2 separate regions of the Homo sapiens genome follow, and region 1 is linked to region 2. Evidence: promoter capture Hi-C in 16 types of primary human blood cells and fetal thymus (Javierre and others, 2016). All regions are on one chromosome and are shown on one strand. Each heading gives the region's core, a stretch centred on a gene start or on the middle of the fragment in contact. The rest is flanking DNA. Distances are from core to core; before and after follow the strand shown. Region 1 holds the start of LEMD1-AS1 (LEMD1 antisense RNA 1). Region 2 has its middle 13 kb from the start of ELK4.

Region 1 (5,824 bases), core at 468-2,967, 270 kb before region 2:
ATGGAGAAACCCCATCTCTATTAAAAATACAAAATTAGCCGGGCATGGTGGTGCATGCCTGTAATCCCAGCTACTCAGGAGGCTGAGGCAGGAGAATCACTTGAACCTGGGAAGCGGAGGTTGCGGTGAGCCGAGATCACACCATTGCACTCCAGCCTGGGCAACAAGAGGGAAACTCCGTCTCAAAAAAATAGTGGTAAAATATACATAACAAAATTTACCATTGTAACCATTTTTAAGGGTACAGTTCAGTGGCACTAAGCACATACATGCTGCTGTGCAGCCATCACCACCATCCATCTTAGAACTTTTTTCATTCTCCAAAATGGATATTCTGTACCCATTAAACAGTAACTCCCCATTCCCCACAGTCTCCAGCTCCGGCAACACCATTCTGCTTTCTATCTCTGTGAATCCGACTACTCCAGGTAGCTCATGTAAATGGAATCATACAGTATTTGTCCTTTTCTGACTGGCTTATTTCACTTAACGTAATGTCTTTAAGCTTCCCCATTGCATAGTTTCTGGCTCAGATCATTCTAGTGCTCATTTTACAGATGAGGAAGCTGAGGCCCCACGGGAGCCTGCCAGGGCAGAGGTAGAATTGGATCCTGGATCTTCTGCTTAGGACACTCTCCCTAACGTTGCCCCGTTGAGGTAAACTGAGGAATGGAGAGACCGATATGGCAGAACAGGAGGATATTTATTTTAAGATATGCACCGGCTCAGTGGATTCACATCCAAAAAGCTGAGCATTGAACAAAGACAGAGCGGGGTTTTTATAAGCGGGCTTACAAAAGCAAAACAAAGGCAGTTAACCATATAGTGCATAACTTGTGGCCTTGCATAGCTGGTGGCCTTGTAGCTGAGACAAAAGAAAAACAAGAACTAGCTAAATACAGACATTTGTAAAACATAGTTATGCTTAAGAAGCCAGGGAAAGGAGTAACAGTAAAGGAATTTGTCTTTCTTTTTTTTCCTTTCAACCTTGCTCTGGAGGAAGGAGTGGGTGTCTGGAGCCCATTCCTTTGGCCTTGGCTTTTCGGACAGCCTTATCTTATAACTGTCCTTGAAGTGAGCTGCTAAGCAGAGGAAAACTTGCTTCTTTTCTTTTTAACCCTTGCCTTGCCTGTTACTTTTCTCGGAGTGAATTAATGCATATTTATTTTTAAATTTCTGCCTCAGCCCTTCTTAGACCAGATCTCACCTTTCTTTTCTAGTAATGCAAGTGAGAGCAACATGTTCTTCACAGCAGCAAAGCCATCCCTGTTCATACAGGTTGTGGAGTTACCCTTCTCTCTGCCAATTTGAAGGGTTGCCCAACATTAATCTGGGAAGGGAAAAAGGCTGCCTCCTAATCAGAACAGTAATGAACATTAATAATCCATTCTCCTTCAAGAGACAAATTTAAAAAAACCCAGTAGCAATAAACTAAAAAAAAAAAAAAAAAAAAAAAAAAAAAAGGACAAACTCATCCTTTCCCCTCCACATATTTTTAGCTAACTCTTGAACCCAAGGAGGATTTTACCAATGGCTCTCCAGGAATTAGAGTTGTCACACCAGTCTCCTGTTGCCAGGAAATGAGGAGAGCTGTCCTCATCCACATCTGCAGTACCTAGAATAGCCCCCTCTGGCTCTCCAGAGATTGATTCATTAGGCAGGGTTGTGTTTAGGTGACGCCCACAAACGAGAACATTCATAGCAGCCATCATTTCTCAGTGAATGCGGTCCTGTAAATGCTGGCGATCTTGTAGCAGTGCTGATTAGCGAGTTGCTCCAACACCTCCTCATAATTTTTTCCTGCTCATCACTCACCTGCTTTGTCAAAATGAACAAGAAGGAAGCATGATTGAGCTGTGCACCGAGGCGGCAAGGAAGCCCTGGATGACCCTCTTAACAGGTTCATTTCTTCTTGAGCAAGCTTGTTAAAAGTTAGCATTGCTTAACACAGGCTAATTGGCTTCCCTTTCATTTTCTTCCATCCAAGTTTCTATCGGGAATCTTCCTCAGAATAAAATGCCAAGTTGGTTAGGCACTTTCTTATTTTAGTCTTGAGATTACGTTCTTGCTTCAGGAAAGAGTCAAGTTTAATTTTACTTCCAAATCAGCCCCTTCTTGTTACTCTAATCAACAAGACTTTTCTTGGCTGGGAGGTAGGGGTAGGGGAGGAAAGGAAGGGAGGAAAAAAAGCAAGAAAAACAACCTCCTAAACATCAACAATCATTTTTCTTGCATGTAAGATTATCAACTACTATAGATATAAACATTGTGGTCTAGCACTTCTTTATTTATGACTGTGGCAATGAAAATAACTTGGTACTTAACCAATTATTTTTAAGAGGTGGTAGCACAGTATTTCTTTGAATGTCGAAGAACAGAAATAGAGCCTTTAAGAATTTCTTCCATCTGCCACCCTGAATATTGACTGGGTAGAGATTTAAACAGCATGCATGCAATAGAATTGGCCTCATCGCCCCATCTGTAGAACACAAGCCTGTGAAATCCAGTGTGTCTGTGTGACATGCAATTAGCTCAATCCTGTTTCTCCAGCCAGGGCTCCACTTCATTGTTTGGCCATGGGATGGAGAACACCTTTGCTGGGTGGCAGGATTGACCCTGCTGTAAATAGTGACATTTATAGGAATGAGGACTTTGGATGCCGTGGGAATGACAGTGTGTTAGAAGGCTAAACACTGCATAATGAGGTTGATTGGGAATGCCTTTCAACAGCAGTTTGCTCATTTTAGGGACTTCTCATCACAGGGATAAACAGGAAGCAAAATCTGGGGTATTGGTTTTGTGGTTTCAAATGTCTATTTGAGTTGGAAACTGCTCAAAATGGAAATGGGCTCTTTCTGGAGGTAGCACAGACATCACTTCGAGAGGAGATCCAGAGATGATTAAGATACAGTCCTCGACACAAGGAGCTCCAAGATTTGTAGGGGAGGCAGACGAGTCATTGAAATTGAAAAAATAAAACACCTCGCTGGCAAGGAGTTTGCTCTTGACAAGAAGAAATCAGTCTCTAGACTAATTCTCTTCCTATTGCTGAGACTAGAGCCCTGCCTTGGAATTTGATTTGGCCCAAGGTCAAGAAAATCTCAAGATCATGGGTCCTTGTATAGCTGGGATAGGGGTGGGTCAATGACTCTGCTGTTGGAGAAGGCACTGAGGTAAGGCCGGTTTTTTACGTACCAGGTCCCCAGCTGTGCTCTAGAAACTGCAGAAACAGAACAAAGCATAAGATTTGAAAACAAACAAATACACTCTGCACGTTGGAAGCAGGAGAAATCTTGGCATAGTATGCTGTTGTGGAGTGAGGGAGATTTTTCTCTTTCTTTATATAGATTCAGGCAGGATTGTGTCTGAGACCAGCACTACGTCTGAATCATTGTGAGTCACTGGGAGGGAGGTATAACTGTGCCCTGTAAGCGGGTCTCAGGGTGGAGAATCACTCTGAAGGATTAAAGGTGGGGCCCTTGGAAAACGATGAATCCTGAAGCAGAAAGCAAAGCTAGCCACTTCAATGCACTTTTAATGGGGTTAGCACTTTTCATTTTCCTAGGATTCTGGGAATGATTCATTTAGCGTTTGGTGTTAAGGTTCTTCCCTCCCCACATTTCAATTTCATATACATTTTCCCTTCCATCTAAAATGTCAGAAAAGCCTGTTACACAGCCTGTGTCACTGTATTGTGGAGAATGTAGGGACAGGGCAGCAGTGGGAGAATTGGCCTGGCCTGCATCAGCTCTCTGCGGAGGTCAGCTTGATGGCAGTGATCCTGGGATGTCAGTCAGCCTCCACTCCCTGGACCTATTTTCCCCAAATTACCAGGGAAAGGTGAGCCTTAAAAAGAAGATCATGAACTGGGTGCAGTGGCTCACACCTGTAATCCCAGCACTTTGGAAGGCCGAGGCAGGTGGATCACCTGAGGTCAAGAGTTCAAGACCAGCCAGGGCAACATGGAGAAACCATATCTCTACTAAAAATACAAAAATCAGCTGGGTGCGGTGGTGCGTTCCTGTAATCCCAGCTACTTGGGAGGCTGAGGCAGGAGAATCACTTGAACCTGGGAGGCGGAGGTTGCAGTGAGCTGAGATCGTGCCACTGCACTCCAGCCTGGGTGACAGAGTGAGACTCTGTTTCAAAAAAAAAAAAAAAAAAGAATCATAAAACACTTGGGTCACATCACAAATACTCAAAAAACAGGGCAAGTGCATTCTTAGAGTTTTCTAAGCAGAGAGGTTTTAACTGTTCCTCTTCACCCCCGATTCCCCTGTCCTATCTATTTGCACTGGGCAATTGCAGCCACAATTCTGTTCTCCCTGGGAGCCCCACAAAGCTATCTCAGCCACCAGCCAGCACCTCATTATTCCTTCTCTGCTGCTTTTGCTCCAGTAGCATTGCCCCATTCACTGCCCGTATCAAAGGCACCCACATTGGGCTGCCCACATCTGTTGCTGCCAATACACTGCAAACTGACCTGCCTCTCCCCTGTCCCAAGTCCCTCAAGGGATTCAGCACACAGCTCCTTGGTTTGGCCCCTCCTTAGAAGCCTGTCTCTCCAGCTCTCATTCAGGGGGCTGTGGCAACTGACACGGAAGACATTCAGGGAGGCAGACACTGTTAGTCCTTAGAAGAGTTACTTTTCTTATGCATTGGCTTCCATTAAAGTTCAAACTTTAACATAGACCATATTTTCCTTCCTATGGTCCCAAGACCCTCTATGATCTGAATCCCACCTTCTTTTCCAGCCGCATCTCTCCCCACCCGCTTCACTCTCTTGTGGCTTCCTAAACCTGCCATGCAGTCTCTCACACACTAGTCTTTGTAAATACTGCTCCCTCGCCTGGCAGACTTTTCCTTTAGCCTCGCCCACTTTTCCCTTATTTGGACTGAGTCCTACTCATCCTTCTGGCTTCAGCTGTGATACCACTTTTTCTAGGAAGCTACCCCTGTCTATTCCCAATATAGGAGAAGGTTGCTCTTTTGTGCTTCCAGGGTACCCTATGCCATCATCAAAAGGATGTCACTTAACACCGTACTATCTGTTGACTTTTCCATCTCTCCTGTCAGACTGTGTGTTCCTTAAGAGCAGGAACTATATCCTATACTGATTAAAAAAATTTTTTTTTAGAGACAGGGTCTTGCTCTGTCACCCAGGGGGAGTGCAGTGGCACAATAATAGCTCACTGCAGCCTCCTTGAAATCCTGGGCCCAAGTGATCCTCTGGGCTCAGCCTCCTGAGTAGCTAATTTTTCTTTTCTTCTTCTTCTTTATTTTTTTCGTAGAGACAGTCTTGCTATGTTGCTTAGGTTGGTCTTCAACTCCCAGCCTCAAGTGATCCTCCCACCTCTGCCTACCAAAGCGCTAGGATTACAGATGTGAGTCACTGTGCCTGGCTGGTTTTATTTGTCATTTTATTGCAAGGGAACAAGAGGTGCTAATCGACTGTTGAATAGATGGTGACACATTGCCTGGGACCAAACTTGTATGCCTTGAGTCTCTTCTTTTAAGACAAGTTTTTCTCCAAGAGGGAACACGTCCCCACTGCACTTAGGTTCCTGATAGGCTTAACTCATTGGTCCTCTGGCCTGAGTTTTAGAGACTCCTCCTATATATGGATCTATTAGAGATAGGAAAAAAACAAAAGTGTTTTTTCATTTATTTGTTTGTTTTGGGGTTTTTTGTTGTTGTTGTTTTGTTTTTTTGAGACAGGGTCTCACTTTGTCACCCAGGCTGGAGTGTAGTATCGAAACCATGGCTCACTATATCCTCGACCTCCAGGGTTCAACGATCCTCCCACCTCAGTCACCCAAGTAGC
Region 2 (5,468 bases), core at 2,288-4,787:
CATTTTAAGTCTTATTTCTAATTATGGTCTCCAATTAAGGGGATTCCATCCTCAGCTAACAGGTAAGATTAGTGGATTGTGCAGTGGGAAGAACCTTCCTCATTGGGCCTCAGTTTCCTCATCTGTAAACTGAGAGAGTGCTTTGATCCCCAGCTCTGGTATCTAAGGATTGATGATTTATTTGGTGTTAGTAAATAAACCTAGGGGCCCTCTGTGCACTCCCAAACCCCTGGGCCCCCATCAAAACACTGTCACCTTGTATTAGGATCTCCAGATAAATAGAACCAATAGGGTTTGTGTGTGTGTGTGGTGTGTGTGTAAAGAGATTTATTACAAAGAATTGGCTCACACTTATTGAAGGCTGACAAGTCCCAAGTCCCAAGATCTGCAGGGTAAGTCAGCAAGCTAGAGACCCAGGAGAGCCTGTGGTACAGTTCCGGTCCAAAGGCTAGCAGTTACAGACCCAGGAAGAGCCAATATTTTAAGTCCACAGGCAGGAAAAAGTCAATATCCCAGTTTAAATGCAGCCAGGCAAGAGGAATTCTGTCTTACTCAGAGCAAGGATCTGTTTTGTTCTGTTCAGGCCTTTACTGATTGGATGAGGCCCACCCACATTATGGAAGACAAACTGCTTTACTCAGTCTACCGATTTAAATGTTCATCCCATCCAAAAACATCCAGAATAATGTTTGACCAAATATCTAAACATCCTGTGGCCCAGTCAAATTGACACATAAAATTCATCATCATACCCTTAGAGGTAGGTAACAGCCACTCAAAAGGCCTGGCCCTGTCGTGAACAAGAGAGGTATCAGACAGGCAAGTTCTTTGAACTCCTGGATATAAAGGCAAGGCCCATCCTTGGTCTCCGACTCTATCTCTTCCCCTAACACCCCTGCCCACAATTCCTACAATTTCTTTCCACTGCCATTCACATCTTTTTTTTAAGATGGAGTTTCACTCTTGTCGCCCAGGCTGGAGTGCAATGGTGCGGTCTCGGCTCACTGCAACCTTCACCTCCCAAGTTCAAGCGATTCTCTTGCCTCAGTTCCCTGAGTAGCTGGGATAACAGGCACCTGCCACCGCACCCAGCTAATTTTTGTATTTTTAGTAGAGACGGGGTTTCACCATTGTTGGCCAGGCTGGTGTCGAACTCCTGACCTCAGGTGATCCGCCTGCCTCGGCCTCCCAAAGTACTGGGATTACAGGCGTGAGCCACTGCGCCCAGCTATTTTTTTTTTTTTTTTAACATTAAGAAAATTTTAAGCCAAGCGCGGTGGCTCACGCCTATAATCCCAGCACTTTGGGAGGCCAAGGCAGGCAGATCACTTCAGGTCAGGAGTTCGAGACAAGCCTGAACAACTTGGTGAAACCCCATCTCTACTAAAAATACAAAAATTAGCTGGGCATGGTGGTACATGCCTGTAATTCCAGCTATTCGGGAGGCTGAGGCCGGAGAATGGCTTGAACCCAGGAGGCAGAGATTGCAGTGAGCCCAGATCACACCACTGCATTCCAGCCTGGGTGACAGAGTGAAAACTCTGTCTCAAAAAAATAAAAGAAGAAAAAGAAAATTTAAAAGGATTTTTAGGAAAATATTACTTATAAAATTACTAGATATTCATAAATTAAATAAAATTATTCTTTTTATAGCACACTGAAACAAAAGCCACAAACTCATCTGAAAAACTGTGAAACCACTCATCATTCATAGAGTATTACTAAACTGAATCTAAAGGTCAAAAAAAAGTACTGCAGTAAACCACATGATACGCAAAAGTAAAACACAACTTTTATCTTAGGCCCAGCCACCTGATATTAGAAGCTGGAGCGTTAAGCTGAGGTTGTCCACTTGCCCAAAAGAAATACAGTTTTCATTTGCCCATTCATTTTGTTTGCCCAATAATTCATTTAAACAAACAAGCAAATGTAATGAGCACCTACTATGTGTAAACACAGAGCTAGAGTGGGGGCAACACAACAATGAATAAGATGCAGCTTTTCCCTGGAAGATCTTGGTGGAGGACCAGATTGCAAATTCTTGCCTGGGCTTCAGAAATCAATTTAGTATCATGGCTGGGCGTAGTGGCTCACACCTGTAATCCTAGCACTTCGGGAGGCCGAGGTGGGCAGATCACCTGAGGTCAGAAGTTTGAGACCAGTCTGGCCAACATGGTGAAACCCCATCTCTACTAAAAAAAATACAAAAATTAGCCAGGCGTGGTGGCACGTGCCTATAATCCCAGGTACTGGGGAGGCTGAGGCAGGAGAAATGCTTCAACCTGGGGTGGGGAGCTGAGGTTGCAGTGAGCTGAGATAGAGTCACTTCACTCCAGCCTGAGCGAAAGAGCAAGACTCTGTCTTTAAAAAACAAAAAACAAGCATCGTTTCTCCTAGGAAGCCCTCTCTGATCCCCCAGGGCCCCTCTGAGACTGGGCCCCTCCAGGCACACCCCCATCACAGCACTGTGACACATTCTATAATTGCTTCTGCATATCTCCAGCCCCCTCACTGCTTGGGGACATCCAAGAGGACAAAGACTGCATCTGTCTCTTCACCGTGTCGCAGCCCCAGCACGTGGTAGTTGCTTAATAAATGTGGAAAGACTTAGCAGATGATGAAGTCAAACAAATTTCTGCCCAGTGAACATAAGGACCACAGTAGCAGTATGCTATAAGGAGACTGAGGCAGGAGTGATTAACTTCAGAGGCCATAGAAAGAAATGTTTAAGCTGAGTGTTGGAGAATAAATACAAATTCAGTAGGCAGAGAGCTCTCCATGAAGAGAATGCAGCCAACAGCAAAGGCACTGAGGCTCAACAGAGCAAAGTTTGCTTGAATGGAGGGAAGCAGGTCATCATGGCTGAAGCAGGATTTGAGGGGCTGGGAGAGCTGAGGCGGTGGGCAAAGGGGATAAAGAGGTGTACAAAGCCACACGTGAAGGGGCTTGTTTGTCGCATGCAGAAACGTGAGTCTCCTGAGGGTCCTCCGCCAGCCCAAGCATGAGGTAGTCAGCTCAGTGCTCCGGCCAGATAACCCAGGCTGTAGTACAGGCATGGACCCAGCGGAGGGACAGGCGGGACTGGAGAAAGGAAGAGGGATGGGTTCATGTGTGAGTCCAGAAAGAGATGCTAAGGGCCCAACCATGACAGTAGCAGTGAGGATGGCAATGAGAAAATCAATGTGAGGGATAGGTAGGAGATAAAATCAATAAGACTTAGTGGGTTTTTTTTAATGGCTAATGCATGAAGGCTAGGAAAATATATGTACAATCAATTGAAGTGCTCACATCTTTCAAGAGTTCATTATGTCAAAAACATTCTGCAGCTGTTTCATACAAGGAAATCTTTTTTTTTTTTTTTTGAGTTGGAGTCTTGCTCTGTCACCCAGGCTGAAGTGCAGTGGTGCCATCATAGCTCACTGCAACCTCTGCCTTCCAGGTTCAAGCCATTCTCCTGCTTCAGCCTCCTGAGTAGCTGGGATTATAGGTGCCCGCCACCACCCCAGCTAACTTTTTTTTTTTTTTTTGTAGAGACAGGGTTTCACCATGTTGGCCAGGCTGGTCTTGAACTCCTGACCCCAGGTGATCCACCTGCCTCAGCCTCCCAAAGTGCTGGGATTACAGGCGTGAGCCACTGTGCCCGGCCAGGAAATCATCATTTTTATTCCTATTTTAAAAACAACCTTCTAGTGGTCATTTCTCTCCACTTCCCCCAACTTTGTACCTCAGTACCTATTGGCAGTTATCAAACAGTCTTGTGCTGTTAGAAATAACTTTCCTGGCCAGGCTCGGTGGCTCATGCCTGTAATCCCAAAACTCTGGCAGGCCGAGGCCACAGGATGACTTGAGGCCAGGAGTTTGAGACCAGCCTGGGCAACATAGTGAGACCACATCTCTAATAAATAAAAAAAAGAATAATCATAAAATAAAAATTACCAAAAAAAGGACTTTTCACTTGAACATGTCTTATTTTCCCACAGGGAAAACTGAGAACTCAAAGAGAGCAATGATAGCATTTTAGACATCTTCATACCCACCCCATAGTTGTACGTACCATGGTGCCTTATACCTACCAGGTATCCAGTAAACAGCAATGGCTGGTTGACTGGTTGGTTGGTGTGTATCAGAAGGTGAGGAGACGGGTCAAAAGTCCTCCACTTAAAAAAAAAACACCTTTTTATTTTGGAATATTAGAGTTACAGGACAGCTGCAAAGATAATGCAAAGGTTTCCTATACAGCCTCACCTCCACCTTTGAAAATTGGTGATGGTAGAAGAAAAATAACCCTGAACCAGTGTGCCCTTGGGCAGGTCACACCACCTTAGCAGGCTCCAGTTTTATCACTGAAAGCAAGATAACAGGGTTCGCCTCACTGTCTTAGTCAGCTTGAACTGCTATAACAAAATACCATAGCTGGGCACGGTGGCTCACGCCTGTAATCCCAGCACTTCGGGAGGCCAAGGCGGGTGGATCACGAGGTCAGGAGATCGAGACCATCCTGGCTAACACGGTGAAACCCCGTCACTACTAAAAAAAATACACAAAAAAAATTAGCCGGGCGTGGTGGCGGGCACCTGTAGTCCCAGCTATTCAGGAGGCTGAGGCAGAAGAATGGTGTGAACCCAGTAGGCGGAGCTTGCAGTGAGCTGAGATAGCACCACTGCACTCCAGCCTGGGCGATAGAGCGAGATTCTGTCTAAAAAAAAAAAAGAAAAAAATTCCGTAGACTAGGTGGCTTATAAACAATGGGTATTTATTCCTCACAGTCCTGGGGCCTGGGAAGTCCAAGGTCAAGGCTGTGGCAGATTGAGTGTCTGCTGAGGGCCTGCTTCCTGGCTCATAGAGGCCATCTTCTCGCTGTGTCCTCACATGGCAGAAGGGGCAAGAGAACTCTTTTAAAAGGGCACCAATCCTATTGATGAGGGCTTCCACCCTCATGACCTAATTGCCTCCCAAAGGCTCCACTTCCAATGCCATCACACTGGGGGTTAGGTTTCAGCATAATCTGGGGAGGAGCACAGTCTGTAGCAGCCGCCTCCACACTCTTCACCCATCACTGTAATAAAATCACTGAGAAGAGGTCAGGCAGTGCCGTGTTCTCTGGGTCTAGAGCCTCTCCAGGATCAGGTCCCTCAGCAGGCAGGCAGCTGCTCCCTGTCTGCCTCCTCGGTGCCAAATCTGGGCTGCCAGTGTGTCTTTCATTGCCACAGCCCCAGAACTAACATGAGGCTCAGCATACAGGAAGGTAGACAGATACTACTTGATGGAAAGAAGGAGAGTGCATTAACTAGGGACTGTCAAATACTAAACAGTCAATTGGGGGAGGGGGGTACAGAGTGAGGTCCTGGAATTCTAGAGTTGGGTCTGTAATCCCAGCACTTTGGGAGGCTGAGGCGGGTGGATCACGAGGTCAGGAGATCGAGACCATCCTGGCTAACACAGTGAAACCCCGTCTCTACTAAAAATAC

The links. The method cuts DNA at HindIII sites, captures the fragments that hold promoters and counts their contacts. A CHiCAGO score of 5 or more calls a contact.
Region 1: the fragment with the promoter of LEMD1-AS1 here is called in contact with a fragment that was not itself captured in region 2 in 1 of 17 cell types (naive B cells); the score reaches 5.1 in naive B cells.

The regions. Positions count from the first base shown.
Region 1 is chr1:205,371,535-205,377,358 of GRCh38, forward strand. It overlaps LEMD1-AS1 (LEMD1 antisense RNA 1), which reads left to right and starts at 1,718. Exons shown (of 4, transcript NR_038425.1): 1 at 1,718-1,900. It overlaps LOC105371698 (a long non-coding RNA gene), which reads right to left. Exons shown (of 3, transcript XR_922462.2): 3 at 5,376-5,626. RefSeq lists silencers at 847-1,141, 4,687-4,981. The HindIII fragment of the contact is 1,416 bases long and covers 504-1,919 here.
Region 2 is chr1:205,642,649-205,648,116 of GRCh38, forward strand. No RefSeq gene overlaps it. Among named protein-coding and RNA genes, the nearest start is that of ELK4, 13 kb to the left of the region's middle. The HindIII fragment of the contact is 8,490 bases long and covers 1-5,468 here.